Linked DNA regions of Homo sapiens: regions 2 and 3 are each linked to region 1. Evidence: promoter capture Hi-C in 16 types of primary human blood cells and fetal thymus (Javierre and others, 2016). All regions are on one chromosome and are shown on one strand. The core of a region is centred on a gene start or on the middle of the fragment in contact, and the rest is flanking DNA. Distances in the headings are between cores, read along the strand shown.

What was found. Contacts are between HindIII fragments. The CHiCAGO score rates a contact against its expected background, and 5 or more counts as called.
Region 2: a fragment that was not itself captured here is called in contact with the fragment with the promoter of WIPI2 in region 1 in 1 of 17 cell types (erythroblasts); the score reaches 5.3 in erythroblasts.
Region 3: a contact is called between a fragment that was not itself captured here and the fragment with the promoter of WIPI2 in region 1, in 1 of 17 cell types (M2 macrophages). The highest score is 5.7, in M2 macrophages.

What each region holds. Positions count from the first base shown.
Region 1 is chr7:5,188,580-5,192,577 of GRCh38, reverse strand. WIPI2 (WD repeat domain, phosphoinositide interacting 2) reads right to left here and starts at 2,345. Exons shown (of 13, transcript NM_015610.4): 1 at 2,085-2,345. The coding sequence starts at 2,158. RefSeq lists silencers at 1,851-1,900, 1,911-2,560. The HindIII fragment of the contact is 15,802 bases long and covers 1-3,998 here.
Region 2 is chr7:5,678,440-5,682,437 of GRCh38, reverse strand. All of the region lies in intron 13 of RNF216 (ring finger protein 216), which reads left to right. It overlaps RNF216-IT1 (RNF216 intronic transcript 1), which reads left to right and starts at 1,977. Exons shown (of 3, transcript NR_046834.1): 1 at 1,977-2,084. RefSeq lists enhancers at 1,916-1,975, 2,076-2,175. The HindIII fragment of the contact is 1,294 bases long and covers 995-2,288 here.
Region 3 is chr7:4,860,871-4,864,868 of GRCh38, reverse strand. The region is part of intron 2 of RADIL (Rap associating with DIL domain); the gene reads left to right. It overlaps PAPOLB (poly(A) polymerase beta), which reads left to right and starts at 2,839. Exons shown (of 1, transcript NM_020144.5): 1 at 2,839-3,998. The coding sequence starts at 3,059. RefSeq lists an enhancer at 2,984-3,596. The HindIII fragment of the contact is 232 bases long and covers 1,632-1,863 here.

The DNA.
Region 1 (3,998 bases), core at 1,096-3,595:
TGTAATAACTTCGGGGAGCATGGAGAAGTGGGTAAGTGTGAAAATGTCCAAGTGTGAAAAGGTCCTATTTCAGGCCAGAGTGACACTCTTCTGTGACACAGGGAACATGGCAGTCCAGCTGAAGTAACAGTAAAAGAGAATGCTTTTCTCTATTTGATTTCATTCTGATAGAAATAATTAGTGAAAAACTGAAAGAGTGGCCGACAATGTTTTGGAAACTCTCTAATTTATACAAGGCATAAACCACCCTACTACTACTACCATTTCTTACTGGTCTCAAAATACTGTGGCCTTGGGCTTAAAAACCAAATTAGAATTGGTTTGGGATGTGTCCTTTTCCCTATCTGGATTAACATAGTCTATTCCACTTGAACTGCAACAGGTTGTCCGAATTGTTTGTTGTTCTGGCTTTTGGTCACACAGAACGCTACAGTACTTGGGAGTTTTCATCTTTACACGTTGTTATGCTATTATTTCTAAATTCACTGTCTTCAGAATTCTACTCTGTAAACAGAAAAAAAAACAGCATGGCAGAGCAGAAAGAACATTGGAAGAGAGCTCAGGAGGCGAGATTCCACTCCTGCCCCCGCTCCACTATTAACCAATTCCAAAACCCAGACCAGCTTGGAGCCTTTCGGAAGGATTTCCTCATCTGTAGTTGGATGAGGTGATTTGCCCCTTCCGACTCTCAATACAGTCCCACTGTGCGACTGTCTTCACAGCTTTGGGGAGGTGCTATTGAGTGCCTGCTGTACACCACCCACTGAGTGTTGTCCATTCTACAATTCACTTTTAATTTCCTAAAGAATCTTACCTTCTGCTATGTTAATTCCACTCAGCCAGTAACAACTCAACCAATGACTTAGTAAGATGCCAAATGCCCCACTCCTTCTCTTTCCTCACTTCCTCTTACTCACTTCCAAGATGGCTCTCCTCCCTGCCAACCCCATAACTCACCCTTCTCTCTCCAGAAAGCTCGCTCATCTATTAACCATCCCCACAAGTCCTCCTCCCAGGCAGCATCCAACCCGTATCAGTGGGGACAAACAGCGTTCCGAATGCACGGGCTGGCATTAAGGCCTTCTCTTGCCCTGAGGATGACCCACCCGCTGGAGCTCTGAGACTCCTGGGGCACTGGTCCGTAACGCCTCTCTTGGCTCAGTTTCTCCCTAGCTAGGTCAGATGCCAAGGTTATTGCTAAGTTTGTTACTTGCTGGAGAAGACATCAAAGTTGATGTCCCAAAAAGAACAGGGAGGGCCGCGCACGGTGGCTCACACCTGTAATCCCAGCACTTTGGGAGGCTGAGGTGGGCGGATCACTTGAGGTCAGGAATTTGAGACCAGCCTGACCAACATGGTGAAACCCTGTCTCTACTACAAATACAAAAAAGTTAGCTGGGCACAGTGGCGCGTGCCTGTAGTCTCAGCTACTCGGGAGGCTGAGGCAGGAGAATCGCTTGAACCCAGGAGGCGGAGGTTGCAGTGAGCTGAGATGGCACCACTGCACTCCAGCCTGGGCAACAGAGCAAGACTCTGTCTCAAAACAAAACAAACCCCAAAAAACAAAAACAAACAAAAAAACAGTGAGAAACGAAGAAAAGAAAATCAAGAGAGAGAGAAGGGTCTTAAGACGATGAAAAGACAAGGAGAAGGGCCTGATTCAAAGGAGAGTGAGTGGGAGACGCTGAGCAAGCAGCGGGAAGAGGAGACGAGAGGAGAGGAAGCGACCCACACCCAGCGCTCCACAGGCGGCCAAGACAAGTCAAGCCCCAAAGTTCGGCCCCAACTTTGCGAGAAGTAGTTAAGTCTGAAGCCAGGGGGCCTCCCCGCAAGAGGGTGAAAGCAGCCCCCTCTCCACCACCTCTCCCGCTCCGGGACCGCAGCTCCAGGCCAGCACCCGAGGGTCTCCCTGGAGGGCGCCCCTCCCTGCACGCCCCGGGCCCGCCCCTGGGGACGCCTCTGCGCGCCTTGGCCCGCGGGGAGGCCGAGCCTGCGACGCCGCCGAGCTTGGCAGCGAGGCCCTCCCCCTAGCCCGGGTCCGACCCTGGCCTCACCCCGACTCCGACCCCCGACCCCGGCCTTACGTGTTGTCCTGGTTGAAGTTGGCGAAGAGCAGCTGGCCGGCGCCGGCCTCCCCGCTCTGGCTCGCCAGGTTCATGGCTGGGCGCGCGGCGAGTGGGCCCGGCCGGGGAGGGCGCGCGCGCGAGGGCGGGTCAGGCTGCACTCAGGGTCGGCGCCGGGCCCCGCTCGCCGCCTCGGTCGCCGCCACTCGCCACCCTGGGATCAACCGCCGCCTCATCCCGTCCCCGCTCTTGTTTATGCTCCAGAGCCGGGGCACCCGGTACGCCTGCGCGGCCCCGCCCCCGCGACGCACGGCCTCGAGCGGCGCAGTCGCACTGCGGAGGCCCCGCCCTCTCACCGCCTGCCTGGGCTTGGGTTCCGGTGGATCACGCAGGCGTGGGGACGCGTCGGGGCGCGCTGGGCCTGGCTGAGGGCGAGCGGCGGCCGCTCATGCGCATGGGGCAGAGCTGGCGGGAGTCTGTTTTCTGCGTACCCTCCTCTTAATAACACTCAATGGCCAGGCACGGTGGCCTGTAATCCCAGCATTTTGGGAGGCCAAGGCGGGCGGATCACCTAAGATCAGAAGTTCGAGACCAGCCTGGCCAACATGGTGAAACCCCGTCTCTACTAAAAATACAAGAAAAATTAGCCGGGCTTGGTGGTGTACGCCTGTAATCCCAGCTACTCGGGAGGCTGAGGCAAGATAATCGCTTGAACCCAGGAGGCGGAGATTGCAGTGAGCCGAGATCATGCCACTGCAATCCATCCAGCCTGGGCCATAGAGCGAGACTCTGTCTCAAACAACAACAAAAACAAAAACAAAAACACCCCAATGGGCCCTCCATGTGCCAATCACTGTGCTGAATGCTTCTGCGCATTACCTTATCATTTTATTATTTTGAAAGACAAGGTCTCGCTCTGTTGCCTAGGCTGGAGTGCAGAGGCTCAATCACAGCTCACTGCAGCCTCAAACTCAGGCTCAAGCGATCCTCCCACCTTAGCCTCCCAAGTAGCTGGGACCACAAATGCATGCCACCACACCCTGCTAACTTTTAAGTTTTTTGTAGAGATGGGGTGGGGGCGGGGGGGGTCTTACTCTGTTGCCTAGGCTGGTCTCGCACTCCTGGCCTCAAGTGATGCTCCCACCTCGGCCTCCCAAAGTACTGGGATTACAGATGTGAGCCACTGTGCCCAGCCACATTATCTTATTTGATGCCCATTACAATCCTAAGTAGAGAATAGTATATCTTAATTTTACAGATTTGAAAATCGAGGCTCAGAAATAATTATTAGCCAAGTGCTAGATCTGAGACTGGAAACGTCCTGTTTCTCCAAGGTCCATACTGTCTGGGTTCCTGGGACAGAATCGTCCCTTAAATTTATTCATTCATTCAACAGTATTTAGGACGCACCTCTCATGTGAACTAAATAGGCCTCCTCCTTTCCCTCAGAGAAGTTATAATGGGGAGATATTTAAATATAAATAGAAGGCCAGGTGTGGTGGCTCTTACCTGTAATCCCAGCACTTTGGGAGGCTGAGGCGGGTGGATCACCTGAGGTCGGGAGTTCCAGACCAGCCTGGCTAACATGGTGAAACCCCGTCTCTACTAAAAGTACAAAAGTTAGCTGGGTATGGTGGTGGGCACCTGTAATCTCAGCTACTAGGGAGGCTGAGGTGGGAGAATTGCTTGAGCCCCACAGGTGGAGGTTGCAGTGAGCCGAGATTGCACCTCTGCACTCCAGCCTGGACGGACGACAGAGTGAGACTCCATCTAAAAAGTAAAATAAAATAGGCTGGGCATGGTGACTCACGCCTGTAACCCCAGCACTTTGGGAGGCTGAGGCAGGTGGATCACCTGAGGTCATGAGTTTGAGACTAGCCTGCCCAACATGGTGAAACCCTGTCTCTAGGAAAAATGTAAAATATTAGCCAGTTG
Region 2 (3,998 bases), core at 392-2,891, 490 kb before region 1:
AGACTGTCTCAAAAAAAAAAAAAAAGAAAAAAAATGAAAGTAAAACTGTCATCTCTCCTTTAGGCCAGAGATTGGCTGCTCCAAGCTAAGTAGTAACATGTGCTCCATGGCTGCCCTTTTAGAGGGACGGGTGTGAGGGTAACCTGGTCAAGTAGCCTCTGAGGTGATTCCAAAGGATTTCAGAACAAGATAGGGATTTTTGGAGTCTAGATTTGAGAAAAAGTCAGTGTGGGCTGGCACGTAGGTACAGAATCTGCCAACTTTGCAATTTAGAAAAGGGGAAAGAAAGCCAACGGTTTTTCCTAGCAGCGTGGGCCCGCATGGCCTCAGGTGCCTGTGTCTGCTGAGTGGACAGGTCTGCAAGCATTTCTCCATCATCCCCACCCTGAGAAGAGGCAGCAGCCGGCCACAGAAGTGGCACACACAGAGCCAGAGTGCCAGTGGGCTGTGACCCATTGTCTAAGGTTGCTGTGGCACAGGGAGATGGTCATCTTTGTAGCATTCTTTAGAAAACCACTGGGGGTTACCACCCTTAGGGGCTACACAGATCCCGTCTTCATGTTGAACTTGCTTTTGAATTTGGCCTTTTCACCTCCTATCCTCCTTTTCTGGGTGTTTCCCGTTTATGTAGTCAGGATTGAGGGATGGCTGTTGATGAGATGCCATGGCCAGTCAGTAAGCCGGAGTGTTGAAGCTGAGCAGTGTGGTTTCGCAGTGTGGTCTGGTAAGTTGCAACCAGTGAGGCTTGGGCCAACATACCAGACAGAAAACTATCCCCAGTTGAGGAATGGGACTCGTCCTTGACACTTCCTAAGCAAGAACAACATTGAAAGGTTGTCAGTGTGGTCAGTGGGTAGGGTTAATCAAGGAGGAGGAAGACACTGTCCTTGGTGCTACAGGTCCTGCCTAGCCCTAGAGGCTTGAGAACACCCCTTGGAATAAACTAGAGAGGGAGGCACACTGGGTCAGGGCTACAGATTTCCTCCCAGAAGCTTAGAAGCTGCTGGGGACTTGGTAATCCACAGTTGTTTCTGTGTAGCTATAAAATGTGACGTGTTTGGGGCCAAGGATGACTTTTCTCTTTCAGAATAAAGTTTGTATTTTTTCCTAAAACAGGTAAATGATGGGAGATGAAACCAGATGATAATTCAGATTCTGGCCCTAGGTAATTGCTTGGATTTCCTGAGGTAGGGAGGTTCCTACATTAGGCATAGTATGAGAAACATTTAGGGTGCTGCTAAAGGCCCAGGTGGCTCTTCAGTGTCTCTGAAGAACCACAAACGATTCAGGACTTGTCCAAATTATAAGCAAGAGGCTAGGCGTTCAAAGAGCCAGGGACAAGCTGTTGAGGTAAGAACACAGGAGCTGAGACCCCAGTGTGGGAAGGGTCTGGGGTATCTGCGGGGTATGGCTGGAGGCAGCAGCATGAGAGGGAGTGAGGGGTGGGATGGCCTGAAGTCCAGGCTCTCCGCCATGGCCCAGCCAGAGGGGATCTAGGCTGGGTTTTGGACCCAGATAGGAGTGGGTTAGATGTGAGGTGCATTTTGGAGGCGGAACAGAAAGGACAAGCTGGAATGAGTGGGGGTAAAGAGAAAGGAGGAATTGGGTTTTGTTGCATGAGCAGCCAGTGGGTGGCTGTGTCCTTCAGGGATACAGGGGAGCCCAGGGGCCAGAAGTGGTGCTTCAGACATCTTTTGTCTGGGGTGCCTTTTAGATATCCAAGTAGAAGTGTTGAGTGCTGGGCGCGGTGGCTCACACCTGTAATCCCAGCACTTTGGGAGGCCGAGTCGGGCAGATCACAAGGTCAGGAGATCGAGACCATCCTGGCCAACATGGTGAAACCCCGTCTCTAGTAAAATACAAAAAAAATTAGCTGAGCATGGTGGTGCGCGCCTGTAGTCCCAGCTACTCAGGAGGCTGAAGCAGGGGAATCGCTTGAACCCGGGAGGTAGAGATTGCAGTGAGCCGAGATCGCACCACTGCTCTCCAGGCTGGCGACAGGGCAAGACTCCGTCTCAACAACAACAAAAAAAGAAGTGTTGAGTAACCAGTGAGCTGACAAGCCCACCACGTGGAGGACTCGGGTAGGAGACTTGGGCTTGGGGGAGTGGATCGCATTCTATGATGACAGAGCTAGCTGGGGGCAGGGCGGGGGACAAAGGAACCACTTCCCTGTTGGACCTTGAAGGCTGCATTAGAGCATGAAGAGACTTCCGGAAGAGGACACAGAGTGTTAAAGTAGAGGGGAGCGTGTGTTTCCAGGGCGAGCTCTGAGGAGGCTGGAAGCTTCAGGGCCAGCTCGTGGGGGAGATGTCCCTTGTGTGAAGAACGTGGACTTCTTCCTGATTGCAGCAGGAAGTCTATCCATGGTCATTAAACAGGGTAGTGAAATGATCAGATTTAGCTTGTCACATGATTATTCTGGTAGCAGAGGACTGAGGATGTAATGATCCCAGCAAGAGACTCCCAGGACCCTAAGGGACTCGCTGTGCATACAGGGTCCCTATTGTGTTTCTTAAAGCCGACTGTGGAGCCGCCTGGCTCACCTGCCCAGGGACTCTGGCCGCTTAGCAGAAAGGCGGGTGAGGGACCTGGAGGAGCATGATAGTCTCTCCTGCTGAGGGTCTAAAGATGCTCATTCCCACAGGGCCAGTTGTTAGAAATGCAGGCACTCACACAGATACGCTCTTCTCTCAGTGGTGCCTGCCTTTCTTTTTTTGTTTAATTGTTCCTTGCAGTAGCACATTCCATGGGAGATTCCATGACAGGGCTATTCTCTCGATTTCAGTGGTTTTGATTTTGTGTCTGTTGTCATAGCGCCTGGAGCTAAGCCTTATCAAATAATTGCACATCTGGTGATCACTTAGGCTTCCAGAAATGTGAGGCAGGGAGGACCCTCAAGGGACTCTGGTCAGCACTCCTACTGCTGAGAGGCTTCACCGCATTCCCCCAGACTCACCAACAGCCTCGTTACACTTGTTACGGTGTGTGTGCACCAGTGCGCTCAGCGCCTGCATCCTCACAACCCAGCCCCTTGTGAGGCTGGCCGGACCACAGCTTGCCCTGTTCTGCACCATTCTAGGGCTGAAGGATTTGCCCAAAATATGTCACTAGATGGTGACAAACAGGCCCTTAGTCCAGTGCCTTTAGCAGGGGCTGGCTGGAGCAGCATGGCCATGTTCAGATGCCTGTCCCACCACTTGTTAGCTGTGTGCACCGCCCCCCCGCCACCGCACCACCACCACCCCTACCCGAGGGTGACAGGATCCTCCTGAAAAGTCTGTTAGGAGGATTAAATGACTTGATAACTAAGATGTTTCATCCATAAGCACTCAATAAATGGTAGCTGCTGCTGTTATTCATTCCACTGTATCTAATCTCTGTACTCTTAAATTTTACAACTTTACTCAATAACTTTTAAAATATTCTACACTTGTGGCTCCCATAAATTTCCTCTTTGCTCTATTGAGGCCATTTCTAGTCCCTGTGTGATCAGGGTTATTGGAGAGCAACTGATAAACCAGCCATGCTCCCCACTTCCTCTCTAGGAGCTCGGCCTCCTCAGCTTGTCTGCAGACCTTTGCCTCTTAATTTATCCAGTCCAGCTCTCATGTCTTCCCTGATGAAGTGGAGTCGAGAAATCTGCTCCGTCACCTTCTGTGTGAGGAGCAGCCTCTGCAGCTTGTCCCACTGCTGTAGCTCTCACAGTGCAGGGTTTCCTGGAAGCGTGCTTGGAGGGTAGCAGGCCCAGGAGGCACAGTTGTGACTGGAGCCATGGCAGAGCAGCAGTTGATATTTGTCACTACGAGTGCCGGCCTCCTTATAAGCACTCCTTTTATAGATAGGGAAGCTGAAGCTGGGAGAGGTGAGGTCACTCACCTGAGGTCACTTTAGTAAGTAGCCATGGTGGACTACTCAGGCGGGCCCAGAGCCATTTTCCTGACCACCAGGTCATGTGGGGACGCCAGGTGGCATGAATCTCTGAATCTCATTTTTCT
Region 3 (3,998 bases), core at 498-2,997, 330 kb after region 1:
TAGGTAGAGAATACTTTGAAAAGGTCAGTAATAGGAGATTAATTTAGTTGTTGTAGAAGTTGAAATGAGAGTTGATGGTGGCTTGGACTAGAGTTATAAGGGAACAGGTAGAAAGCAGTAGAGGGATTTTAAGTATATTCTGGAGGTGAAATCAACAGAACTTGTAAATGAATTGGATGTTGAGGATGCAAAACAGGGAGGTGTCCAGAATGACTCCCAGGTTTCTTGTATCAAGAGTTGGGTAGAAAGAGATGTCATTTCCTAAAATGGAGACTACTGAGAGAGAAGCAAACTGTGGGAGGATGAGTTAGAGTTCTCTTTAAACTATGTTAAGTTAAAGGCATCCAAATATAGGTGGCAACCACAGGCAGTCAGATAATATGGATCTGGAGTTCAGAAGAGAGTCTGATTAAAATATGAATTAATCTGTAAGTAAGTGGTATTTAAAGCTGTGGAAATCAGCAGATTAACCAGGCAGTGAATGTACATGCAGTGAGGAGAAATGAGGGCTTAGAATGGAAACTGGAGGAACTCCCAACATTTAGAGGTCAAGTAAAGGAGGAGGAATCAGCAAATTTGACTGAGGACTGGCCAGACATGTGGAAGACAAAGAGTATGGTGTCGCAGAGGCCAAGATGAAGCTACCATAGGTCAAAGAAGATGGAAATCATTGGGGTCATGGGTTGGGCAACATGGAGGTCACCAAAGACCTTGCTGATAGCTGTTTTTGAGCATGTAAGCCAATGTTGAAATGGATTAAAAAGAAGGTATTTATATTTCTGGCAATATATGGGATTAATTATCCCAGAAAATCTTTCTATGTAAAGTGCCTGGAAATGTTGGATAAATATAAGAAATCATTTTTTTGAATGCATAGCTGAGTACCCAGGAAAATAAAGGAAGTCTCTAGGGCTGGAAGAAAAAGGGATACCTTGAAACCTCAGGATTGTAGCTGATTCTGAAACTAGAACCGCCCTAGAGGCATTGGCCAGTCTTGGAAACTGAGAAACTTAAGTTTAGCAGCTGTCCAAGAAGAGACAGAAAGCTCTTGGGACCTTAAAAGGTAGGGAGTTAGAATTGAGACCCCTCCAAATACAATTGGAATCCTCAAAGGGTGACACATTGAGTGAAAAAATGGAGTAAGAAGAATCTGCTACCTGGTGAAAGGAGATGGCAAAGGAAGTTCTCTCTCTTGACTTGGGTGGGAAAAACTAAAGACTGTTCCTTAAAAATGAAAACCACATGTCCTCTTACATGTATTTGGGGTTCAAAGTTGCACCATCTAGATGTTGTGGATAATCCCTGGATAAGAAATTACACTGACTGCAATTCTATAGTGTACAAGAACATCTACTGGAAACAAAGCAAATCCTCTTTGGAAGGACACAGCGTCTACACAGGCATTCCAAGCTTCACCAGAAATGAGCTCACAATCCAAAATTACAAGACCCAAGAGGTAATACCACTCTGAGTTCTTGGATAACAACAAACTATACAGTTTCTCAAGAGCATTCGGAATTAGAATAATTAGTTATAGAGTACTAAATAAGTATGTTTAACACGTTTAAAGAAATAAAAGGTAGGGGGAAAAACATGAAAGAACAGAATGCCATCTAAAAGGCAGAGAAGCTTGGAAAAGAACAAAATAGTGAAATATAAGTATTTAAGTGGATATTTCAATGATGCTTAAACAGCAGACTAAATACAACTGAAGAGAGGACTTGGAGGTAATCTGGCATCACCCAGAAAGACACACGGCTTAAGAGACATGGAGGACAGAGTGAGAAGGTTGACAACGTGTCTAGATGAAGAGAATCAGGAGACAAGTGGGAGAACATATTCCCAGGAAGTGCCCAAGAAGCTTCTGGAGATCATAAAAAGCATGACTTCTGATTCGGGAATCATAGTGTATCCTGGGTAAGATTATATTTTTTATTTTTTATTTTTATTTTTAATTTTATTTTTTTTTTTGAGACAGAGTTTCACTCTTGTTGCCCAGGCTGGAGTGCAATGGTGTGATCTTGGCTCACCGCAACCTCTGCCTCTCAGGTTCAAGCAATTCTCCTGCCTCAGCCTCCCGAGTAGCTGGGATTACAGGCATGCACCACCACGCCCGGCTAATTTTGTATTTTTAGTAGTGACGGGGTTTCTCCATGTTGAGGCTGGTCTCCAACTCCTGACCTCAGGTGATCTGCCCGCCTCGGCCTCCCATAGTGCTGGGATTACAGGCGTGAGCCACTGCGCCCAGCCTGGGTAAGATTATTAAAGAGAAATCTATGCCTGGACACACAGTGGTGGGATCACAGGGCACTAGGGACAGACACTTTTATAGCTGCCATAAGAAAAGACAGACGAGCAGTAGTTCACCTAGCTGCGGAATTCTCAACGGGAACCAGAGGACAGCAGTATCGCGCCCTTAAAGCATGGCCAGAACACAAATGTCGACCTCGAAATGCTGCCCCAGCTAAACCAATGTCCAGCAACGGCCCAAGAAACAAGACAGAAGCTGCTTTCCACCGCGGGTTCCCACCACGAAGGGGTCTTTGGACTTCCAAAGGGTGCACGCTAGGGTGAAGAGTGCTGAGGGTGCCCCCAAAAAGGATGCACATCTGCGATGTCAAGGGACTTGGAGAGCAAAGAATTAGATGGGTAAAGTTGGGCAAATATGTAAAATAGTGGCAATAAAGGGTTGAGTTTGGCCGGTCATCAACAACGTGAATCCTGCCCACCCCCATGTATAGCCCCCCGCGCAGCGGTAGGAGCCCCAGCCCAGAACGCTGTGGCTCCCGTGAGCCCTCGCGCTGGCGGCGGGTGCGCAGGCGCCCGCGCGTGTACGGTAGGTTCTGGAACGCAGCCGCTGAGGGGTCTGGCGCCATGTTGGGGCTGAGGGGAAGGAGGAGAAGCTCCTGAAGCGGCGGGCGCGCAGCGGGAGTGGGAGTGGGGTCGGACCAGGGCAGCTAGAAGCCCTGCCCTTCCGCCTCAGCGGATCATGACCCGGGCGGCGGCCGCGAAGGTCGCGGTGGTGGGGGACGTGCCCTGGCGGGGCGGGCGCTGAAAGATGATGCCGTTTCCGGTGACAACCCAGGGACCACCGCAGCCGGCGCCGCCGCCGAATCGCTACGGCGTCTCCTCGCCTATCAGTCTAGCGGTCCCCAAGGAGACGGACTGCCTCCTCACCCAGAGGCTAATAGAAACCCTCAGGCCCTTCGGGGTCTTCGAAGAGGAAGAGGAACTGCAGCGCAGGATTTTAGTTTTGGAAAAATTAAATAATCTGGTAAAGGAATGGATACGCGAAATCAGTGAAAGCAAGAGTCTTCCCCAGTCTGTAATTGAAAACGTTGGAGGAAAGATTTTTACGTTTGGCTCTTACAGATTAGGAGTACATACGAAAGGCGCAGATATTGACGCCTTGTGCGTTGCACCAAGTCATGTGGATCGAAGCGACTTTTTCACCTCATTCTATGCTAAACTGAAACTACAGGAGGAAGTGAAAGATTTAAGGGCTGTCGAGGAGGCATTTGTGCCAGTTATCAAACTGTGTTTTGATGGGATAGAGATTGATATTTTATTTGCAAGATTAGCACTACAGACTATTCCAGAAGATTTGGACTTAAGAGATGACAGTCTACTTAAAAATTTAGACATTAGATGCATAAGAAGCCTTAATGGTTGCCGGGTAACCGATGAAATTTTACATCTAGTGCCAAACATTGACAACTTCAGGCTGACTCTGAGAGCCATCAAACTGTGGGCCAAGTGCCACAATATCTATTCCAATATATTAGGTTTCCTCGGAGGTGTTTCCTGGGCCATGCTAGTAGCAAGAACTTGTCAGCTTTATCCAAATGCAGTAGCGTCAACTCTTGTACGGAAATTCTTCTTGGTATTTTCAGAATGGGAATGGCCAAACCCAGTGTTACTGAAGGAGCCTGAAGAACGGAATCTTAATTTGCCTGTATGGGACCCAAGAGTAAATCCCAGTGATAGGTACCATCTTA